Linked DNA regions of Homo sapiens: all the other regions are linked to region 3. The links are contacts of gene promoters, found by promoter capture Hi-C in blood cells and fetal thymus (Javierre and others, 2016). All regions are on one chromosome and are shown on one strand. Each heading gives the region's core, a stretch centred on a gene start or on the middle of the fragment in contact. The rest is flanking DNA. Distances are from core to core; before and after follow the strand shown.

Region 1 (2,700 bases), core at 36-2,535, 2.0 Mb after region 3:
AAGCTAAAGTTCACGAGGAGAAATACAAATATTGTGTATACTACCTAATGGAAAAAGTTGGGCATACAAATTGTTCAAATACTGAGAGTAGGCCCAGCATGGTTGCTCACACCTATAATCCCAGCACTTTGGGAGGCTGCAGGAGTTCAAGACCAGCCTGGGCAACATAGTGTGACCCCCATGTGGAAAAATAAAATACAGAGTAAATTGTTATGATACAACTAACACACATTGTAAATCGACGGATTATCCGCTTTAACATTACTTTAGTGTTTTTTTTTGTTTGTTTTTTGTTTTTTTTTGAGACGGAGTCTCGCTCTGTCACCCAGGCTGGTGTGCAGTGACGCAATCTCGGCTCACATTGCAAGCTCTGCCTTCCGGGTTCATGGCATTCTCCTGCCTCAGCCTCCTGAGTAGCTGGGACTACAGGCACCCGCCACCATGCCCGGCTAATTTTTTTTATTTTTTAGTAAAGATGGGGTTTCACCATGTTAGCCAGGATGGTCTCGATCTCCTGACCTCGTGATCCGCCCACCTCAGCCTCCCAAAGTACTGGGATTACAGGCGTGAGCCACTGCGCCTGGCCTGCTTTAGTGTTTTTTGATACATTTTATGGAAAAGGTGGTAATAAAAATTGAAAGTGTTTTTAGTTTATTTAAAAACCAGTTGTCATAGTAAATAGTGAATTCCATTCTTTTTTGCATTTTAAGTTAAATAACAAACCAGCTTATTGCAAAGAGAAAGTGACTTTGAAACCTTCAGTCTTAATAATGTTTAAGTACCGTTTTTGTCCTTAACTCAAATTAATACAGTGGTCGTTTTTGATGCTCGATGAATGCTGGGAATTCAGAGGAATGTCTTCACTTATACTTGGATTTGCTCTCTTCCCATTTCTGATTGTTGTATAGCTTTCGATTTTGCTTACAGTAGTTCCCCCTTATCTTCGGGAGATACATTCCAAGGCCCCCAGTGAACTCCTGAAACCTCAAACAGTACCAAACCTTTATACACTGTTTTTTCCATATATATATACCTATGATAAAGTATAATGTATAAATTAAGCATAGCAAGAGATTAATAATAATGTAATAGAACAATGATAACATACTATAATAAAAGTTATGTGAATGTGGTTGGTCTCTCTTGCTTTCAAAATATCTTCTTGTACAGTACTCACCTATTTTAGAATGTGGTTGACTACAGGTAACCAAAACCACAGAAAGGGAAACTTTGGATGAGGGGGGCACTACTGTACTTAGGAATACAACTATATACATATGATTTTATTTTTAAGACCATATTATATTTGGGTATCTACTAATATTTTGTATAAAGCAATTTTTTGTTCCATTACGTGACTTTTTGTTTTATTGTATATGTAATTTAACACACAATAAAGGGTAAAGTTGCTTCCCCAAACCACACTTTTAATCAAAACCTAGAATCATCTGCAGTCCTTGTTAAAAATGCAGGTTTCTAGAACCCTCTGAAGTTCTGATTAAATAAATTTATTGCAAACCACTGTCCTGTGTCACTGTGTCATTTGATATGAAGTATACCATTGTGCTTGGTGTCAGTATGCATATGTCATCTTGAGTTCAGTTTTTCATTTATTACTAGGTATAGGCCTTTCTGTATTTTCATATAATGCTTGGTTCTCTTTTAAATCTCAGAATAATGAAGGGAAACTTTAATTGTTTTCTGTAAGGCAAAATCAACCCCAAGCAAAGTGAATGAAGCAGGCTGTTAAGCCAAGTGCAGTTTCCAAGGTGTAATCACTCATTAAGGTCAACAGTTCTGCTTTTAGGATATAAAAAGAACAGGCAGTGACTCGGGAGGCTGAGATGGGAGGATCACTTGAACCCAAGAGTTTGAGGCTGCAGTGAGCCATAATCATGCTGCTGCACTCCAGCCTGATGGACAGTGCAACACCCTGAGTCAAGGGCTGGGGAGGGGAGCGTTGGTTTACACTGAATTATTGGATAAATGTTTAAGTCTTCAGCCTTGATCTTTGGGATGTAGAATTAATGGTCACACTTATACGCTATTCTGTTCAAGGATTCCATGGTTGTGGAATGTCATGTTGGCCAGCCTGATGTGCATTTTAAAGATTAGATGTATTCCAACTTTATTAATAGTTATGTCTGTCTTTGACATTCAAAATATTGTCCATAATACTTTGTTAAAAAAAACCCTGCATTTTTACCACCATCTTCATATATTAAATTCTATAAATTTATTACATGCTATATGAAATACTTCCATGCTCAGATTTTTGTTTTGTTTTGTTTTTTTAAGACCGGGTCTCCCTCTGTTGTCCAGACTGGAGTGCAGTGGCATGATCATAGCTCACTACAGCCTCCATCTCCCAGGCTTACACAATCTTCTCACCTCAGCTTCCTGAATAGCTGGGACTGCAAGCACACACCACCATGCTGGCTGATTATTTTGATTTTTAGTAGAGATGAAGTCTCACTACATTGCCCAGGCTGGCAATGAAATTGAGCTTTCATAATTTTATAATTTTAGTATATTCCTTCTTGAACTTTTTAGATATGGGAGTCTCAATACATGGTATTTCTTTATGACAGTTCCCTAAACAGATAAATCCCCAACTTATGGGATAATATACTTCTCTTAACTCTTCTCATTTTAGACTAAGTCCTTTGCATATCAGTAGTTTAATTGAATATTGTTATC
Region 2 (2,700 bases), core at 52-2,551, 2.8 Mb before region 3:
AGCTGAGGTGGGCCACTGCACTCCAGCCTGGGCGACAGAGCGAAACTCAAAAATAAATAAATAAGTAAATAAAATAAATAAATATCACTGGAGGTAAGCCAGGTGAACTGGATAGTAACAGAGTTGGATAATACTTTGGGAAATCACACATACACACACCAAAAAACCAAAACCAAACCAAAGATGCAGCAAAAAAATTAACGGAGATGACGTTCTTAGATTGATCCAAAGTTGCCTCCGTGTAATTTCACAAGCGTTTCCAAAATATTCTAGGCAAGAGGCAATTTCCAAAAGATTCTAGCAAGAGTTACTGAAGGTCAATATTCTTATGCAAACATTTTGTTTTTTTTTTTTGAGGGGTTGTGGGGGAAATGAGGAAGTGAAGGAAATCCTATTATTTAATAATTACATGGAGGAAAAACGACTGGTAAATTTGAAAGGTAGTTTTTAGATAAAAAACCAAAATACCTTAAGAAATGTCCTTAAATTTCCATATGTATGTCTGGCACCCTTAACTAGGGGGCCATGGAGAGAAGGAAGGTAGACGGTTTAATGTTCACAATAATTAACCCTTTTGTAATGAATTTAATCTCATCTTAACTCCCTGAGTTAAAAAAATAAAACAAACTGAGTCAGGTGCGATGGCTCGCAACTGTAATCCTAGCAGTTAGGGGAGGCAGAGGCGGGAGGACAGCTTGAACTCAGGAGTTCAAGACCAGCCTGGCCAACACAGTGAGACTGTCTCTACAAAAAATACAAATTAACCGGGCTCGTGCCTGTAATCCCAGTTTACGTAATCCCAGATTACAGGCTCGTGCCTGTAATCCCAGCTAGGGTAGGCCGAGGTGGGAGGATCTTTGAACCCGGGAGTTGGAGGCTGCAGTGAGCTACGATCGTGCCACTGCACTCCAACCTGGGCGACAGAGCGAGACTCCATCTCAAAAAACAAACAAAACAACAAAACTGAGCTAAAGACAAATAGGATTGACCTGGGGAGTGGGGTCTGAGGCAATGGGATGAGGCTGTCTAACAGGGCACCTCACAGGGAGATGAGAACCGCTTGGCCACACAGAGGCAAAATGCGGCCGAGGTCAGCACAGCCCTCTCGGGGTTAAGAACGGGGCGCCTGAGGGGTATCCCGGTCCCCGACTAGAACCTCCTACGCGCTGGCAGCCAGAAACAGGATGAAGGAGACTGGCGCGGACTGCGGGCTCTGCGGGCGGGGCGGGGCGGGGCGGGGCGGGGCGGGGCGGGGCGGGGGCCAGCCCTCTGGGGCATGCCGGGGGGCGGAGTCTGCGCTGAGTGAAGAGGTGCCAGAATCCGCGAAGAGGGTCGACGAATGCGCTGCCGCGGAGGGTAGGGCGCTGAGGGTCTGAACCCTGATGCAAGGAGGGGCTGGAGGTCGCGGGCACGTTTCTTTTGGGTTGGGCGGCGGAGGGGCAGCTCTAGGGCCTGGAGCAGGGCTTTACCAGAACAGTCCACCCCTCCCGCCCGGTTAACCTGAGCGTCTCTTTCGCCTTGGCTTGGTTCCGGTCGCTACTGTGGGTGCCGCCGCCGCAGCCTTTGGGCTGCTCGACCATACCCCGTCTTAGAAGGTCAGGTGTGCAAAACTTGGACTCGACTTCATCCAAGAGCTCGTCCAGGTCCTCCGCCATCTTGAATCGCCTGGCCTTTTCCCCTCCAATCGCCAAGGCTCCGGTGGTTTCCAGGAGTAACGAGGGGACCTGGCGGGCTCCTGCCCCGTTAGGCGTCCCCGCGCATGCGCACCGCTTCCCGTGGCAACCCGGCGCCCACGAGGGCTCGCGGCAGAGAACGCGGTGGGTTCGTGAGGGGCGGGCGTATGCAGGGACAGAGTTCGGAGCTGTCTCTGCAGTGTGTCTGTGTGACTCGCGATGCTTTGCGTTTCTTCCTTTCAGCATGTCTGGCGTGGTTCCTCCCGTCTCCCCCTCCCGGGCCCACGTTGTAACCACAAGCACGCATTCTCGCCCCTTCATTCTCTCCTCTCCCGTTTGGGTCCCTGTTGTGTTTCAGCCGTTTGTAAATTCCTGAAATCTGTGGAAGGTTTGAGCAGAACGCTCTAAAACACAAAAAGTAAGTGTTGACGGCAAAAAGCTGACATTCCCGTAGTCGGCAGGATTCGAACCTGCGCGGGGAGACCCCAATGGATTTCTAGTCCATCGCCTTAACCACTCGGCCACGACTACTGGCTGTGTGAATTTTTGCGGTGAGAGTGCATGTAGACTCTGCATAAGCGTCTGCTGCAGCAATAGGCACGTTTTGATGTGGAGGAAACCATTACTGAGCTGTTCTGTTAAGAGCATATTTGAATGTTACCTCGCTCATCATTTTACAGTTTGTAAAAGTCTTAGAACGTATCCCGTCCAACTCTTTGTTGGAAAAAACGGAAATTCTAATTAAATCCGAGAGAGAGAGAGAGAGAGACAGAGAGAGAGATGCGTGCTCAAAACTATTGCACACCCACTTGCTTGCACAATGTTGGAGCCATTTCCAGGAGAGAACCAGGAACCGGGTAGGGGCCAACCAGCTTCCCGACTTCCTTGTGGGGCTGCCAGTTCCACTCCTTCGCCTTTCTCTTTGACAAACGGCTCCCAGGACTATCTTTTCACCCATTATACATTAAAAAGCTATTACCCAGCGATTTAAATTCACTCTGCAGGGTCAGACAGTCCCACCGTGCCA
Region 3 (2,700 bases), core at 189-2,688:
TTCAATTAACTTGTTAAATAAAATGAAGTGAGCCATCTCAAAGAAATAGGTTAAGTAAATTATAAGTGATATACAGATTTGGCAAACAAACAAACAAAAAAGACAGAAGTAGCACTTGAATTATGAAAACTTTCTCCCCAAAATCTTTATACCATGCATTCTTCTACCTCCATGCCCTCACTCAAGCCATTCCCTCTACCTGACTTCTACCTCCATGCCCTTCACTCAATGACTTCCTGTTGAAATCCTTAATAAATTAATTTAAAAATCAAACTTTACAACACTACTATAAATGACAAAACCAACCTTCAAAACCAAAGGACTACCTCTCACAAGGAACCTTCCTAAATCTTCTTTTTCCTCTTCCACCCCAAGTTAAAATCAATTTGTCTTTTTTCTCCTTTACTCCCTACCCCACTTGCCCTCTCACTTCTACTGCATTTTATTTATTTCCAAGTTTTCTATAATAATTCCTGTTCTGCCACATCTCAGTGCCTTTTCTCACAGCAGTAGGTTTAAAGGAGGGAGCTGTTGATGGGGCTCTTTTCAGTTGGGAGAGAGGCAGACCAAGTATGAAGCTAATGAAAGAAGTTGGTCATAAAGGACTGCATGTTTTATGATTCAATTTATAGGAAATGTCCACAACAAGCAAATCCATGAAGATGCAAGTAGATTGTCAGGGGCCGGGGGAGAGGAGAATGGGGAGTGAATGCTAATGGGGATGGGATTTATTTTTGGGGTGATGAAAATGTTCTGAAGAAAGTGGTGATGGCTGCACAACTCTGTGAGTATGGTCAAAACCACTGAATTGTACATGTTAAAGGGGGTGAATCTTACGGTACGTGAATTATATCTCAATAAAGCTGTTACCAAGAAAACAAAAACGACCCCCTCCCCCAAAACAAAACACAGGGTCTGAAGGCTTCTAACTGGGGAGAGCTTTCTGGCAGGCTGTGCTCCGCAGCGAGGCAGCCCCAGAACGAGCAAAGTCCCATGGAGTGCAGGTTCCTGGTCCCATCGTGGCTCCCAACTCTCTGTGGGTCTTCGGGCGCGTTGCTTACTTTCCAGGCTCAATTTCCTTGCGTGTTAGCTGGGGCTCCGGCCCGGAGTGGCCCCAACCCCGAATCCCCGAACCCGCACGCCCTGGGTCCGACACAGCTTCCACCAGCCACGTTACCTGTAGGGTCCAATGGCCCCTGGGGCTTTCGCGGTGCTGATCACCCTTCTGATCAAGGACGACATGGCTAAGCCTTCCCTCTTGCAGCCCCTTCAGGAGAAGAAGCCCCAGCACCAGCCCTGCTGGCTTCTTACTGGACTGACCAACCACAGCAGCGCCTCTGCCCCACAGCTCCCGCTGGGGGCGGGCTCGTGCGGCATTCTGGGAACTGTAGTTTCGGCGACGCTCCAGGCCACGTGGAGGAAGCGCCCGGTCTGGCGCATGCGCTCTCCAGCGCGCTCTCCAGGAGCTTTGGCTCGGTGGGTACTGTCGCGGAGGCTTGTCATTCTGACCCGGGGATTCCTCACAGCGTCTGGCAGGTTGGTCGTGAGGGGCTGGTGCCTTCCAGGATGCGAGTGTCGGGGGAACTGTATGCGGCGGCCCCCCTCCCGGCGCCCGTCTCCCCTCTTCATCGTTTCTCTCTCAGACTCCGCTGACCTCTTTCCTTGCTGCCTGTGCCCGGGGCCCCTCTCCCTGGTGTCGCATCTCCTTCGGCCCCTGCGCTGGAGCCCCCTACGTCAGTCATTTCCCTTCATTGCCCCGCCGGGTGGAGGCCGTCCTGGGAATGGGCTTGCATCCCCTCTTCTGCAACCCCAAATGACTAATATGGGTCATTCTGGCGACCACGCTGAGATCTGGGCGTTGGTCCTCCCGTGTTCCCTTTCCTGCTCCTCCTGTGTTCCCTTCTCTAGGGTGCTCCTCGGGCTTTACAAGGTCACTGTCTGAACAGAGCCCTAGTGATTGGGATATCATTTCAGAAAGAAAGATGGTGATCTGGAATGGCCCAGATCCCTTGTAAGTATTCTGCTGTGTCAGAAGGGGTGGTACTTGGCTAAATATTTCTTATCCTGTTAATATTTGCATTGTAAGTACGCTTCGTTTCTTCATTTATGCGGGCACTCATAGATATATGAGTCCCTACTTTGTGTAAGGCACTCTGCTAGATGCTAGGAGGAATGCAACAGTTAAAAAAAATAATAATAAAATCTCTGCCTTCCCTGCTTCCTAAAGATAATACAAGAAAATCTGCTTTATTCCCTCTCATTTTGTCCTACATACTGCTAAGGTTTTGGCCTTCCTACTTCCGGCTCAGGAACCTTCTGATCTTTTTCATTGGTTTGGGGCCTGGAATAAAAGACCTTTCAGTCTGGCCTCCCCTTGCCTATTCAAGTTTCATTGTCATCTACTCCCTTTTCCCACTAGAGTCCTCCTGTATTCACACTGTGGATTCCTGAATACTCTTTCTTCCTTATCTGTGCAAATTCCAGCTAACTGAAATTCTATTTTCTCTTTGACTTTTCCTACCAATTCACATTTTTTTCTTTTTCTTCTTTCCTTCCTTTCCTTTTCTTTTTCTTTGTTTTCTTTCTTTCAAGACAGGATCTCACTCTGTCACCCTGGCTGGAGTACAGTGGCATGATCTTGGCTCACTGAAACCTTGACCTCCTGGGCTGAAGCAATCCTCCAGCCTGAGCATCTCAAGT

The links. The method cuts DNA at HindIII sites, captures the fragments that hold promoters and counts their contacts. A CHiCAGO score of 5 or more calls a contact.
Region 1: a fragment that was not itself captured here is called in contact with the fragment with the promoter of POP1 in region 3 in 1 of 17 cell types (neutrophils); the score reaches 6.8 in neutrophils.
Region 2: a contact is called between the fragment with the promoter of CFAP418-AS1 here and the fragment with the promoter of POP1 in region 3, in 1 of 17 cell types (M0 macrophages). The highest score is 5.4, in M0 macrophages.

The regions. Positions count from the first base shown.
Region 1 is chr8:100,152,482-100,155,181 of GRCh38, forward strand. It overlaps POLR2K (RNA polymerase II, I and III subunit K), which reads left to right. Exons shown (of 4, transcript NM_005034.4): 4 at 813-1,522. The coding sequence ends at 835. Among named protein-coding and RNA genes, the nearest start is that of POLR2K, 3.2 kb to the left of the region's middle. The HindIII fragment of the contact is 3,247 bases long and covers 1-2,700 here.
Region 2 is chr8:95,267,535-95,270,234 of GRCh38, forward strand. It overlaps CFAP418-AS1 (CFAP418 antisense RNA 1), which reads left to right and starts at 1,302. Exons shown (of 4, transcript NR_038209.1): 1 at 1,302-1,356. CFAP418 (cilia and flagella associated protein 418) reads right to left here and starts at 1,667. Exons shown (of 6, transcript NM_177965.4): 1 at 1,501-1,667. The coding sequence starts at 1,655. TRS-AGA2-5 (tRNA-Ser (anticodon AGA) 2-5) reads right to left here and starts at 2,204; the gene lies at 2,123-2,204. RefSeq lists enhancers at 1,259-1,698, 1,653-2,292, 2,329-2,408. The HindIII fragment of the contact is 4,678 bases long and covers 1-2,700 here.
Region 3 is chr8:98,115,855-98,118,554 of GRCh38, forward strand. It overlaps POP1 (POP1 ribonuclease P/MRP subunit), which reads left to right and starts at 1,439. Exons shown (of 16, transcript NM_001145860.2): 1 at 1,439-1,536. RIDA (reactive intermediate imine deaminase A) reads right to left here and starts at 1,317. Exons shown (of 6, transcript NM_005836.3): 1 at 1,178-1,317. The coding sequence starts at 1,242. RefSeq lists enhancers at 1,422-1,471, 1,542-1,711. The HindIII fragment of the contact is 6,678 bases long and covers 1-2,700 here.